2 separate regions of the Homo sapiens genome follow, and region 1 is linked to region 2. Evidence: promoter capture Hi-C in 16 types of primary human blood cells and fetal thymus (Javierre and others, 2016). All regions are on one chromosome and are shown on one strand. The core of a region is centred on a gene start or on the middle of the fragment in contact, and the rest is flanking DNA. Distances in the headings are between cores, read along the strand shown.

Region 1 (6,652 bases), core at 4,051-6,550, 640 kb after region 2:
CCAGGAAATATCTGATGAGAACATTAATGAATTAACAAACCTAAAAATGACCACCCTAGAGTTCCTAGGCTTCCCCTCCAGGCACAGGCGTCCCTAGGAGACCCCACGGACACTGAGGCATACCCAACCTAAGAGCTTCTGTCCCCGAGCCAATCCCTGATATTCCTTGCCTGAGGTAGCCCCTGTACTACTTGGGACCAGAGTTCTTAATCAACATCTGTGACAAGTTGTAGCAATATCTACTGACTGCCCACGACAAGCACATGGGGCAGTACGTGGCGTGATTAGGAGAGCTTCGTCTGGATTCAAAACTTGGCTTGCAGCATCTCTGAGTGTGTGGATATGTAAGTCACTGGGCAAGTTACGTAACCTCTCAGTGCCTCAATGTCCTCTGCTTAGAGAATGGGGATCAGGCTAGTAGCTACAGCTTAAAACATTCGACAAAGATATTCACTAAGCACTTACTACCTGCCAGGTGCTAAGCATACAGCAGTGAACAAAAACAAATGAGGTCCTGCTCTCGTAGAACTTAAACTGAGCAGGAGGAAGCAGATAAACACATAAACAAATACAGACAAATACAGGCCAGACAATTGTGAGAACAAAAATAAAGCAGTTTAAGGAGACAGCCATTATGGGAAGAGTGGTAAGGACCAGAAAGAGGGAGAGGGTCATATGGATATTACGGGGACAAATGTCCCAGGCAGAAGGAACAGCAGACGCAGAGACCCTAAGGTGGGAGTGTGTTTCACATGCTCAAGAAACAAAGCCTTGGTCAGGCGAGGTGGCCCATGCCTATAATCCTAGCACTTCAGAAGGCTGAGGTGGGAGGATAGCTTGAGTTAAAGAGTTTGGGACCAGCCTGGGCAATACAACAAGATCCCATCTCTATTTGTTTTAAATTTTTATATTCATTAGAAAAGAAAAGGCTGGGTGCAGTGGCTCACGCCTATAATCCTAGCACTTTGGGAGGCCGAAGGGGGTGGATCATTTGAGCCCAGGAGTTCGAGACCTGCCTGGGGGAACATGGCAAAACCCTGTCTCTATAAAAAATACAAAAATTAGCCAGGTGTAGAGGAGGGTGTCTGTAGTCCCAGCTACTCAGGGGGCTGAGGTGGGAGGATCACCTGAGCGTGGGAGGTTGAGGCAGCGGTGAGCTGTGATTGTGCCACTGCACTCCAGCCTGGGTGACAGTGTGAGACCCTGTCTCAAAAAAAAAAAAAAGAAAAGAAAAAGAAACAAAGACTGGTATAGCTGGAGGAGTTTGAGAGGAGCAGGTGGCAGGAGGCCGGGTGTTGCAGGGCCTCGTAGGCTATATTAAGTCAGGGGCTGGGACCTAATTCTGAGCACCGCAGGGAGGTGGTGAGCAGGAAACACAGGTGAATGGGAGGATTCACTGAGAAACTCAGAGCAGACAGTGGGTACTGGGTAAGTCTGAAGTACCCGTATTACTGTGTCATCATCCAGCCTGGCACCCCAAGAGCTCCTTCCCCTCCACTTTGCTCACCCGTCTTCCGGGCCCTGAACCCAGTCACCTCCTGCCACCTTCTTTCCACCGTCTCCCGGGCAGGGCTTCAGACCCACAGATCCTAACTTGTCTGCGCTCAGCCTGAGAGCAGGCCCGGGCCAAGCCAGGCAGGGGCCACAACTCCCCAGACAGGGGGAAATGGGCCTAAGGGATGGGGGGGTGGTCCATCTCTGCCCCTTCCAGCTTCTACCCTGCAGACAGACCTGCAGCCTGCCCTCCTTCCCTCCGGGAATGTCCAGGGCACACTCAAAACCCCATCCTGTGCCGGCTGCAGGTACGGAACAAGTAGGCTAGTGTCAGGTGACAGAGCAGCTGGCTGCGTGGAGGAGGGCTGAGGGACCGCCAGGAAGGGGAGGCTCCTGCAGTTCAGCTGGCAGCCTCCCCAGTGAGGAAATCCAGCTGAGGCAGGAAACAGGTATCTCAGCGACTTCCCTCCTAGGCCCTGGAAAACACCTTAATCACCACCGAGGCTCCCTCAAGACGCCTGTCCCCTGCAGGGCCGCCCTAAAGGGGTCAGCAGGCCAAGGCCTGCCGAGTCACCCAGGCCCAGCCCCCTCCTCCAGCAAGCCTCCTCACCTCCCAACAGCTGAAATTACACCCACACTTAATCACAGATCAGCTTCCTGTGGTCCTGTCCCCCGTCCCGGGGAAGCCTGGAGCTCCCTAAGGCCCATCTCACCCTGCTGCTGTGCCCAACCCTTCCCCATAAGCCACTGGCTCCGGACCAAACTGAAGGGCAGATGAGAGCAAGGGTAGCAGGCAAAGAGGGTCCAAGGTGTGCTGGGAGCCTGGGCTAGGAATTGATCTCATTTTTGACTTGCAACAAACTCCTCAACCCCATTGTACAGATTTGGAAACTAAGGCTCAGAGAGAGGAACTCGCCCCAGATCACACAGCCAGAAACCGCAGCCCAGAGACTCATACTTGGGTCTGTAAGACTTCAGAGACAGGCCAGGCATGATGGCTTATGCCTGTCATCCCAACACTTTAGGAGACCGAGGCGAGAGGATCGCTTGAGGCCAGGAGTTTGAGACCAGCCTGGGCAACAAAGTGTGATGCCCTCTTTTTTTTTTTTTGAGACAGAGTCTTGCTCTGTCGCCCAGGCTGGAGTGCAGTGGCGCGATCTCGGCTCACTGCAAGCTCCGCCTCCCGGGTTAACGCCATTCTCCTGCCTCAGCCTCCGGAGTAGCTGGGACTACAGGTACGTGCCACCATGCCTGGCTAACTTTTTGCATTTTTAGTAGAGACAGGGTTTCACTATGCTGGCCAGGCTGATCTTGAACTCCTGACCTCATGATCCGCTCGCCTCGGCCTCCCAAAGTCCTGGGATTACTGGCGTGTGCCACCGCGCCTGGCCCCGAAAAACTTTTTATTGTTTGTTTGTTTTGAGGCGGAGTCTCACTCTGTCACCCAGGCTGGAGTGCAATGGTGTGGTCTCAGCTCACTGCAACCTCCGCCTCCTGGGTTCAAGCGATTCTCCTGCCTCAGCCTCCCGAGTAGTTGGGATTACAAGCATGCGCCACCACACCCGTCTAATTTTTGTATTTTCAGTACAGATGGGGTTTCACTATGTTGGCCAGGCTGGTCTCAAACTCCTGACCTCGTGATCCGCCCACCGTGGCCTCCCAAAGTGCTGGGATTACAGGCATGAGCCACCGCGCCTGGCCTGAAAAACTTTTTAAAAAGAATTTTATAAAGAGACTTCAGGGGCCAAGCTCTTTCCAGCCCACCACCAGCAGCCTGGGGTGGGACAGCGACCCTCCATGTGTTGCTGAGAAGGCTCTCTAATCCCACAGGATTGGAGCTGCCTGTTTATTTGTCTAAATTACCGCCCACCAGCCTGTGAGTGCTGGGAAGGCACAGACAGGGCCTGTCCTTGCTGGTCCAACCCACCCCAGCCCCTAGCACCACACGAGGTTCACTGGTTCACTGGCACACAGTAGGTGCATGGCAAATATCTGCCCAAAGAATGAACCTCTGTACTCCCAGTGACTGCCATGGAATGTCGCTCAGTGATGATCTGTTGAATGAACAAGTGAATGAGATGATCTGCCACGGTCCAGGAATGTCTGTGGAAATTCCTCATGCACACAGCAAACAACTCCACCCACCGCCATCCTACCGCACCCGGGCATGGAGGAGCCCCTCATCGGGGGCAGAGCTGGGGGAAGGTCAGGAAAGACTGTTGGGCCTCGGAAAACATCCCACGTGCTAGGTTGGTGCGTTGGGAAAAGTAAAAGTCAGTGCCAGGAGTGCAAGTTCAGGTCAAGACTAGGGAGCTACTGGATGGCCCTGCTGAATATTTTGGGGTGAGAGGCTGAAACAGGAGGACGACAGAGGAGGCTGCCCAGAGTGGGGATGGGGGAGGAGAAGTGCTGGGTGGGTGGGGCAAGAGCAGTGAGGAGCCAGGTCTGGGTGGGGGCTTGACGAGTGACTCAGGAGGGTAGAGGTGCGATGAAGCCAGGAAGGTGAGGCCAGGCAGGCAGTTCCTGGGTAAACACCAGCCTGGTTAGAAAAGTCCCTCTCTTGGCTCAGAGAACAGGGAGGCAGGTATGGGGACTGCCTAGGAGCACCTCGGAGAGAGTGGGGGTGGCTCTGTGGCTCCCCACGGTAGGCTCGGCTCCCCAGATGTGCCCCCACCCACATCTGCCACTAGCTCCCTGCCCACCGACCCCACCCAGTCCTCCTCAAGTTCACTCAGGTCCTCAGGGCCTCTGCTGGCCAAGTGCCTTCTAAGCCTCGGGATTCCTGACCGTAGAATTCCCTTTTCCTCCACCTAAGCTCAGAGTAGGGGACTAGACTGCAAGGGCAGGCCTCTCCCTGCCTCTTGGAGACCTGGGAAGAGGAAAGCTGGGGAACTCGGGTCCCCCAAGGGTGCACTGCATCCCCGCACCACGCACTTTGCAGCTCATTCCACGCAGTCCAGCAACGCCCTGCAGCTATGCATTTTGAGGCCGTGCATTTTGAGTTCCCTTGACCCACGTGGGGCTGGCCTCAGAGAGGTTAACTAGCGTGCCCCAGGTCACACAGTTACTCAGTGAAAGGCAGGGATTGATTCAACTCTTCGGCTGTATGACTCCAAGGCCCGTGGGTGTTCCACACAAGCTTCAGTTCTGTCCCAAAAGTTTTGCTTGTGCCTACCTGGGTCCAAGCTCCCCAAGGTGATAGACGGTGTGGTAAAGTTTCAGCGAGACTCATAGGGTCCCCATCACCACTGAGTGGCCGTTCTGCCAAGCTGGCGCAGAAGGGTTCCCTCGTCCTGCCAAGTTCCCACCCTGCTCAAAGTTTCCCCTCCTGGTCCCCAGGAATGGTAGGCCGGACCATGCCCAGCGAGACTCCAGCACTCGGCAACGTGGCCGAGAGACCCACGGGCTCCCACACGGGCCAGCCCCGCCCCCAGCCCCACGAAGGGTCCTGACTGGTGGCCCCCCTGGATTAGCCCCATGCCGCAGGGTGGCGCCGGCCCGGGGTCCCCGGCGGGCGCCGCCGTCCCGGGCCAGAGTCCCCGCCGCGCAGCCTTGGGCGCCCCAGCCAAGTTGGCGGGAGGCGGCGAGCGGGACCGGGGCGCCCCTAGCCCCTCCGCCCCCGCCCCCCGCCCCTCTGCCCCGCACACTCACCGCCAGCAGCCGCCCGTGCAGCAGCAGCGCCAGCAGCAGCGCGCCCGCCGCCCGCCACCCCATGGCCCGGCCCGCGCCGCTCTCTCGCTCGCTCGCTCCGCGCCGCCCGCTCCGCGCCGCCCGCAGCCGCCCGCTCGCCGGCCAGCTCGGGACAGCGCGGCCCTCTCCCCACCGCCCCCTTTCCTCCCCGCCCGCCCCGCCCCCGCAGCGCCGGCCCCGCCCCCGAACCGCCCCTCCCCGGAGCGCCAGGCCCCGCCCACGGACCGCCCCCGGGCCGCGGGCTCTGCTCGCCCCAGCCGGCCGCGCAGCCTACTAGGCCTTTGTCTGGGCCCCCAGCCCCCTCCGCGCGGGCCGCGGCCCGGCCCGGCTCCCCGCCAAACCCGGCCTGGAGTATGGGATGGGACGGGGCGGGGGACCGGGGGCCCGGGCCCGGGCATGGGATGGGGCCGCCGGGCCAGGCGCTCTCGCCTCCCCGATCCCCGGCTCCCCCGCTTCCCCGCGCGCGCCGCCGACTTCCACGCCCCTGCACGCCCCGCACGGCCGACTCCACTCGCGCAGCTTTTGAAGATCCCGGGATCTCCTTCCCACGCTCACACGCACGCAGCTGCCGCTCCGCGCCACACGTGCACGCCAACTTCCACACCCAAGAACACCTTCACACCATAACTTTACTGCACGAACACACTTGTGCGCTACCCGGGAACACTTTCACACTCTGGACCCAACTCTGAAGTACCAACAATCCTCACCGGCTCACATGCACACTTAACTCGCTTCCAAACTCTCACCTCCACCAGGGACACAGGAGACAGCCCTCACACCACACTCAGCCCCTCACTCACGCATACATCCCAACAAGTCACGGAGCGGGAGGACGCCTTTTCACATAGATTCCTCGCAGGCACGCACATTTCACACACAGGCCCACATCATTGCCTACATGCTTACCAGCTTGTTTTTTTTTTTTTTTTTTTTTTTGAGAAGGAGTCTCGCTCTGTCCCCAGGCTGGAGTGCGGTGGTGGGATCTTGGCTCACTGCAACCTCCGCCTCCGGGTTCAAGCAATTCTCCGGCCTCAGCCTCCTGAATAGCTGGGATTACAGGCGTGCCACCACGCCTGGCTAATTTTTGTATTTTTAATAGAGATGGGGTTTTTACCATGTTGGCCAGGCTGGTCTCGAACTCCTGACCTTGTGATCTGCCCGCCTTGCCCTCCCAAAGTGATGGGATTACAGGCATTGAGCCACCGCACCCAGCCTCAGCCTGTATCTTTTACCTGTTCTCACCCACTAATCACAGTGCCTCATAGTGGGCACTGGGTACTGAACTGAGCTGCCCACCCCACCTGCACCATTTTCCATGTAAATCACTCACACACCAACTTTGAGTCACATAAATCACAGCCCCAGAGCCAGAACCACACCAACTCACACACTCAGGCCCAGACAGACAGACCCTGCCAAAGCCCCATCACAGATGCTCGGGTGGGTGGTAAAATCACAGCCCCAT
Region 2 (6,804 bases), core at 485-2,984:
TCGCTCGCGCCTGTAATCCCAACACTTTGGGAGGCCAAGTTGGGTAGATCACTTGAGGTCAGGAGTTCAAGACCAGCCTGGCCAACATGATGAAACCCCATCTCTACTAAAAATACAAAAAATCAGCTGGGCCTGGTGGCATGCATCTGTAATCCTAGCTACTCAGGAGGCTGAGGCAGAAGAATCGCTTGAACCCAGGAGGTCGAGGTTGCAGTGAGCTGAGATTGTGCCACTGTACTCTAGCCTGGGTGACAGAGTGAGACTCCATCTCAAACAAACAAACCACAGAAATCTGGCTGGGTTCAGTGGTTCACACCTGTAATCCCAGCACTTTGGGAGGCTGAGGCAGGAGATCACTTGAGTCTAATTCTAGGCCAGCCTGGGCAACACGGACCCCATCTCTACAAAAAGAAAATATATATATATATATTTATATATTATATATTTTTAATTAGCAGGACGTGGTGGTATGCGCCTGTAGTCCCAGCTACTTGGGAGGCTTAGGTGGGAGAATCGCTTGAAGCCAGGAGGTGGCGGCTACAGTGAGCTGTGATTGCACCACTGCACTCCAGCGTGGACGACACAACAAGATCTTGTCTGAGTAAATAAATAAAATAAAAAAAAATTCTGATATTACCACTCCCTTGCTTAAAAACCCTCCACTGTCCTGGAATGAAATCCAAACCCTTCACCAGGCCCCATGGCCCCTGCCCACTCTGGGCCCTCATCTTGTGCTGCCAGCGCCCCCTCCCCCACCAACCTCCTCACACAACTCCTCAGTTTCTACAAGTTTCTTCTTCCCCCAAGACCTTTGTAGCTGCTGTTGTCTCTATCTGGAACATTTTTTCCTCCTCTCTACTCTTCCCATGGTCAGCTCCAACTTCAGATCTCAGCCTACCAGCTCCTCAAATGTCCCAGGAACCCTAAGCAGTCCCCCAAATTCTCTGTTACAGCATCCTGTTTGTTTTCCTTTACAGTACTTGTTGCAGACTGTTTTGTTTCCATGTCTTTATCATCACTGTCTCTGTCCCTCTCCAGAATCCACAGCTTTACTGGGGCTGGGACCTTGTCTGGCCTGTCCAACAGAGACTCTCCATCACCCGGCACAGAGTAGGTGCTCAACAAACGGTTGTTAAAATCAAAGGGGGGACAAGTAGAGGGGAAGTGCCTTCAAGTTCTCAAGAACTCTCCTGCATCTAACTTCATAATGCCTACAGAAACAGGGAACACATCTAAAGGTCACAGGCCCTGGGGAGGCAGGGTGCATGGGAAAGCTCTGAATTCTGGAGACTTCTGCCTCACTCCCACTGGGTGGAGGAGTTTCCATTACCCATCCCAGAGAGAGAGGGGACTCTGAGGCTGCTTCACTTACTGCTGGGTTGCAGCTGGGCTTTTTCTAGAACAGGACACTTGGTTACACTACGTTACCAGGTGTCGATTGCCAGAGGAAAAGACTTTTGAAAAAGAAGTTCAGTTCACAGAACATCTCCCCGGGGCATGTGGGTGGTGTAAGGGATTCACCCGGCTGGTGTACGGGATTTGTCAGTTCTTTTATACCATCTCTTTTAAGCTTCTCACCCTTCCCTCAGAAGCAGGTATCACTGGTTCCTTTTACAGAGAATGAAACTGAGGCTTGGGGAAGTTAACTCGCCCAGGTGTGGTTAAGCGATGGCTCCTCCTCCTTCTGTCTCATTTCAGAGATTTCCCCCTTCTGGCAAGCTCTCCTGACCACCCTCCAGGGACCCCAGACAGCATTTGGTCCCTGGCTCTGTGTCCCCACACAGCCACCCTACCCCATGCTGCCTTTTACTGAGGCACACAGCATTTTAGACAGGAGAACCCTGATGGCAGAGGCTGGGTCTCACGGGACCCTGTCTCCTTAAGGGCTTAGTCTGGGGCTGGAGCCTCTACAGATGTTTGAGCAAAGGCGGGAGGCAAGGGAGGGAGGCCGGAAGCCACCCCAGGGACTCTGATGTCCACCCTGCGGCAGCCTGTCTGTGGACAGATGATGCAGGAAGCTCACGGAACTCCCAAGCAGAAATCAGCAGAGATGGAGCCTGGTTATTTTTCAGCACACAAAAGCCGAGGGCCCCTTCCTGAGATGCCTGCCTCAGCCCGGTAGTGAAACTGAACCCACCTCAGACGGGAAAGGCTTGGCGGGCTCTGCTTGGTGGGAAGTCCACAGTGGGTGAGTGACATTTCAACAGCTGCCTGGGGCCCTTCGCCCAGGGCCTTCCATTCACTACCCCAATGGCTCCCCACACCCACCTAGAGCCTCAGCCTCACAAGTACCGCTTCCAGCTTACAGAGAGGGGGAGGGGCCTAGACAGACCAAAAACCAACCATGCCACTTGACAAATTCTCTCCTAACCCCACAGTGCCTCGTCCCTGAGATGAGAATCATCACCTCCGCTTTACAAATGAGATGACCAAGGGTCAGAGAGGAGAAAGGACCTCCCCCCAGCCCTGAGTCACCTGCCTGGAGACTGAGGGAGCCATAATGCGAATCTTCCCCTTGCCAAACCCACTGACTCCATTACGCTGCCTCCAGAGAACCCGAGCCCCGCGGCGAGAAAGTGGTAGAGCTGGGCCTCGAACCTGGGTCCTGGACTCTTGGTCCTGTGCTCCTTGTGGAAGATGGAACTGCTTCTTCAGGTGGGAACCTCACAGAGTCTGGGTGCCCTGGGCAGACTGAGGCTCTGGGCTGACAGGGCAGCCAGCACTTATTCTCCCTAATTGTCTCATTTGCAGTTGTGGGTGCCACGCCTGGCCCCGAGTGTGTTGGGGAAGGTAAAGAACCTCCACTTTGGTCTTCTCAGTTCCCTTCCTGGCACTGTGCAGCCGTGGAGGAGAAATCTGGGTTGAATCTGGGTCTAGTGTTCAAGAGGAGGGCCTGGCAGAAACCAAGAGTGAAGGGGTGGAACCACAGCTCCCTGTGGACTGCCCCGTCCTCAGTCCCCGGTGCCCCAGCTGCACAGAGGAAGTGATGACAGCCAGATGAAGGTGCAACAGTGCCCAGCTCTGGAAACTCCACCCTTGTAAATCAAAGGCCTGTGGTGAGCAGAAACGAGAAATATAAACACGCACAGGTTTCTGGCGACAAAAGCCTCCTGGCCTGGTAGCACCTGGGCATGACCCCCTTTGCCCAGACGACATTAGTCACTCATATGGCTCTTGCGTTTGGTTGGCCAAAGGCGGGGGATTGTTAAGTCATCTTGGGGTGATGAGGTGGAAAAGGGAAGCCCCACATGTGAAATTCTGAGGCCTGGGACTGAGCCACACCCTCCACAGCTACTTTCACATTGTCTCTAAGCCTCAGCTCCTTAGAGACGCTGCCCTTTGTGGCCGAAGTCCCCATCAGTTACTACTTTTGGTGCTGGTAATTGGCTGGGATCTGTTCAATCTTTACATGTCATCTAAAACACACTCATATTATCTGGTAGCTAAACACTTATATTTCACAGATGCTATAATGTAGTGGGTAAAATCTCTGGATCTAAACCTCATTTCAGATCCCCAGTCTGAACTTCCCAACTCTGTGACCCTGAGCAAGTGACTCAGCCTCTCTGTGCCTCAGTACTCATCTGTCAAATGAGGAGGATGATGATAACAATAGTACCTCCCTCATAGGACTGTGGTGACACTTAAATGAGTTAATATAGATAAAGTGCTTGGCTGGGCATGGTGACTCATGCCTGCAATCCCAGCACCTGGGGAGACCCAGGCCGGAGGATTGTTTGAGGCCAGGAGTTCAAGACCAGCCTGGGAAACACAGCAAAACCCTGTCTCAAAAAAACAAAAACAAAAACAAACCCAAGTAACACAACTTTGGGCAAGGGATAAGATATAAAAATATGGCTATCATTTCTAAAGATATGCCACTTGACATTTATTATTATTACATTATCCATTATATTTCCCAGTATTTTTCACCAGAGAAATTTCCATGTGATTAGCTTATTTTAAAATTTACTATGAAGTTCCTGAAAGTGTAAACTGCTTCTTTACTTTTTAATAACAGGAATCAGCTTGTATCTCTTTTTTCTTTGGCTGCCAGGAAACTCATAGCCAAATCAGAAACTCGCCTATGGGCACTTTCTTGGCCTTTAGGTTCAGCTTTTTCCTTGTCCACATTTTCCACTCTGTTTTCCGTGATTCTGATTTTCCATTTGGTATTGCATGTCGTTTTACTGAATGTATTTTATTTATAACCTATCATGAATCCTTTGTGGAACAGAGTTAGAAACAACATTTATCAGGCAATTAAGACAGACCTGAGCCCACTCACAGGTTTCCTGGCTCATGTGACCTCGGACATGTTGTTTTCACCCTCAGGTCTCAGTTTCTTCATCCGTAAAAGGGCCATTGTAAATACCGAGTAAGCTAGAACATGAACTGCCTGGCATCCAGCAGCCCAAGCCTGCGTGAACCACACCAGAGGGACATCCTGCGCAGGCCACCTCTTTCTGCTTGCTTCTTCTTGTCTTCCTCACCACCCCTCCCATTTGCTTCTGCCCTCATCCAGATTTTCCAGTCTTGGCCTTTGTTCAGCCAACATTTGTTGTTACTCTAGCCCTGCTGTAAACTCAGTGAAAATAACAGATTGCCCAGGTGATGGAGGTTAATATCAACAGCAAGAAGTCAAATACGAGTTATTAATAGAAATCATGTACCCTTCAGCCGGGTGCTCATGCTTGTAATCCCAGCACTTTGGGAGGCGAGGTGGGCAGATTGCTTGAGCCCAGCAGTTTGCGACCAACCTGGGTAACACAGTGAGACTTTGTCTCTACAAAAAATTTAAAAAAAAAATTAGCTAGGTGTGGTGGCATCCACCTGTGGCCCCACTACTTAGGAGGCTGAGGTGGAAGGATTGCTTGAGCCTAGAAGGTTGAGGCTACAGTGAGCTGAGATCACGCCACTGCACTCTAGCTTGGGTGACAGAGCAAGACCCTGTCTCAACTACAAAAAAAAGAGAGAGAAATAAAATAAAATAAAGTAAAACAAAACAAAACAGAGTCATTGACCTTGACATTGCCCAGTTCTCAAGGCTCTTTTACTCTTGTGTCTTACAATCACCATGTGGGATAAGTCCTGGGATCCCCATTTTACAGATGCAGAGACTGAGGCTCAGAGAAAGGAAGCAGCTTGCCAGAGCTGGAGCCCAAACCCAGATCTTCCTGGTTATCTCAGGGCCTCACCTCCTTTTTTTGTGCCTCCTACCCGGGGCCTGGCTCTGTAGGCTAACTTCCTTTAGAGGCTACGGGCCACCCATCTGGGATGTGGGAAATAGGGACAGATATAACTGCTGGGGCCTGGAGAGGGAGACTCCCCTTTGTACCAAGGGCTCAGATGGAACTGAGGGCCTGTGCAGGGGAAGGCAGCAGGTGGGCAGGGGCTGGGGAGGCCTCAAGGTGAGACTCAGGGAGACACTGGAAGGCCAAGGGCACAGGGCAGAGGTAGGAGGTCAAGGTTGCTAACTGCCCCTTGGAGAAGGCAGCAGCCCTGCCAGCCTGTGAGCCAACCACTCTGGCGTGGCCCCGAGTCCCAGGGCTGGGCTCCCGTGAATGTGCTGGCAGCAGGAGACTTGCCTCCACACACACAGCGCTGGGAAGCACTCACTCACATGGCCCAGTGTTGACTCAACTGCCAGAGGCCCTGGGGGGCACCGGGAATCTTACCTAGTGTTGCTGGCCCATTCTTCAGTGCCTGCTGTGGAGGCCACCCCATGCCCAAGCCCCAAACCTGGTCAGCAGCCTCTCACTCCTACCTGATACAGGCCACTGACCTGCCCACCCTGTCCACTTGCCTGGCAACCTCCATCAATCATCTCTGGTCCTCTGTCCAGGCCCACTGGGCTCTGTCCCCTCGGCATGCCTTCCCCGGTGACCCCCTGACCCCCTTGATCTCCTACTGTAGCTCCCTTTAGTCTTTCAGCTCCTGGCTAGCTCCTGGCAGAACTTTCTTTTTTCTTTTTCTTTTTTTTTTTTTTTTTTTGAGACAGAATCTCACTCTGTCACCCAGGCTGGAGTACAGTCACTTAATCTTGGCTCACTGTAACCTCTGCCTCCTGGGTTCAAGCAATTCAATTCTCCTGCCTCAGCCTCCCGAGTAGCTGGGACTACAGGCGCCCGCCACCATGCCCGGCTAATTTTTGTATTTTTAGTAGAGATGGGATTTCACCACGTTGGCCAGGCTGGTCTCGAACTCCTGACTTCAGATGATCCACCCACCTCCGCCTCCCAAAGTGCTGGGATTACAGATGTGAGCCATGGCTCTTGTTGTTGTTGTTTTTTTTTTTAAGAGACTAGGTCTCGCTCTGTCACCCAGGCTGGAGTGCAGTGGTGTGATCATGGCTCACTGCAGCCTCTAAACTCATGGGATCAAGTGATGCTCTTGCCTCAGCTTCCTGAGTAGCTGGGACCACAGGTGGGTAGCACCATGCCTAGCTAATTTTAAACATTTTTTTTGTAGAGACAAGGTCTCATTGTATTGCCCGGGCTGTTCTAACTCCTGGGCTCAAGCGATCCTCCGGCCTCAGCCTCCTAAAGTGATGGGATTACAGTCATGAGTCACCATGCTTGGCCTGGGCAGGACTTTCTCAAGTGGAACTGCCTCACACACAGACTCCCTGGAGCTGGCAGGATGAAGCCCATGAACCTTGGCCTGGCTTGCTAAACCCTCCCTCCCGACTCCCTCAGGAGTTCGAGTCTGCCTTCTTTCTCCGGCTGGCTCCTCAGCTTAACGCGCTTTCCTCCAGGCAGCTCTCTCGGGCTTCGCAGTGACCCTTCCTCGGTGCTCCGCGGC

Evidence for each region. Contacts are between HindIII fragments. The CHiCAGO score rates a contact against its expected background, and 5 or more counts as called.
Region 1: a contact is called between the fragment with the promoter of HSPG2 here and the fragment with the promoter of ECE1-AS1 in region 2, in 6 of 17 cell types (fetal thymus, naive CD8 T cells, total B cells and 3 more). The highest score is 7.9, in fetal thymus.

Annotation. Positions count from the first base shown.
Region 1 is chr1:21,932,010-21,938,661 of GRCh38, forward strand. It overlaps HSPG2 (heparan sulfate proteoglycan 2), which reads right to left and starts at 5,301. Exons shown (of 97, transcript NM_005529.7): 1 at 5,146-5,301. The coding sequence starts at 5,208. RefSeq lists enhancers at 1-296, 3,751-4,592 and a silencer at 5,340-5,689. The HindIII fragment of the contact is 13,080 bases long and covers 4,632-6,652 here.
Region 2 is chr1:21,291,556-21,298,359 of GRCh38, forward strand. ECE1-AS1 (ECE1 antisense RNA 1) reads left to right here and starts at 1,735. Exons shown (of 3, transcript NR_038404.1): 1 at 1,735-2,188; 2 at 2,379-2,655; 3 at 6,472-6,804. It also overlaps a transcript of ECE1 not described here. RefSeq lists enhancers at 1,682-1,771, 2,613-3,812, 3,152-3,311, 5,016-5,620. The HindIII fragment of the contact is 8,029 bases long and covers 1,569-6,804 here.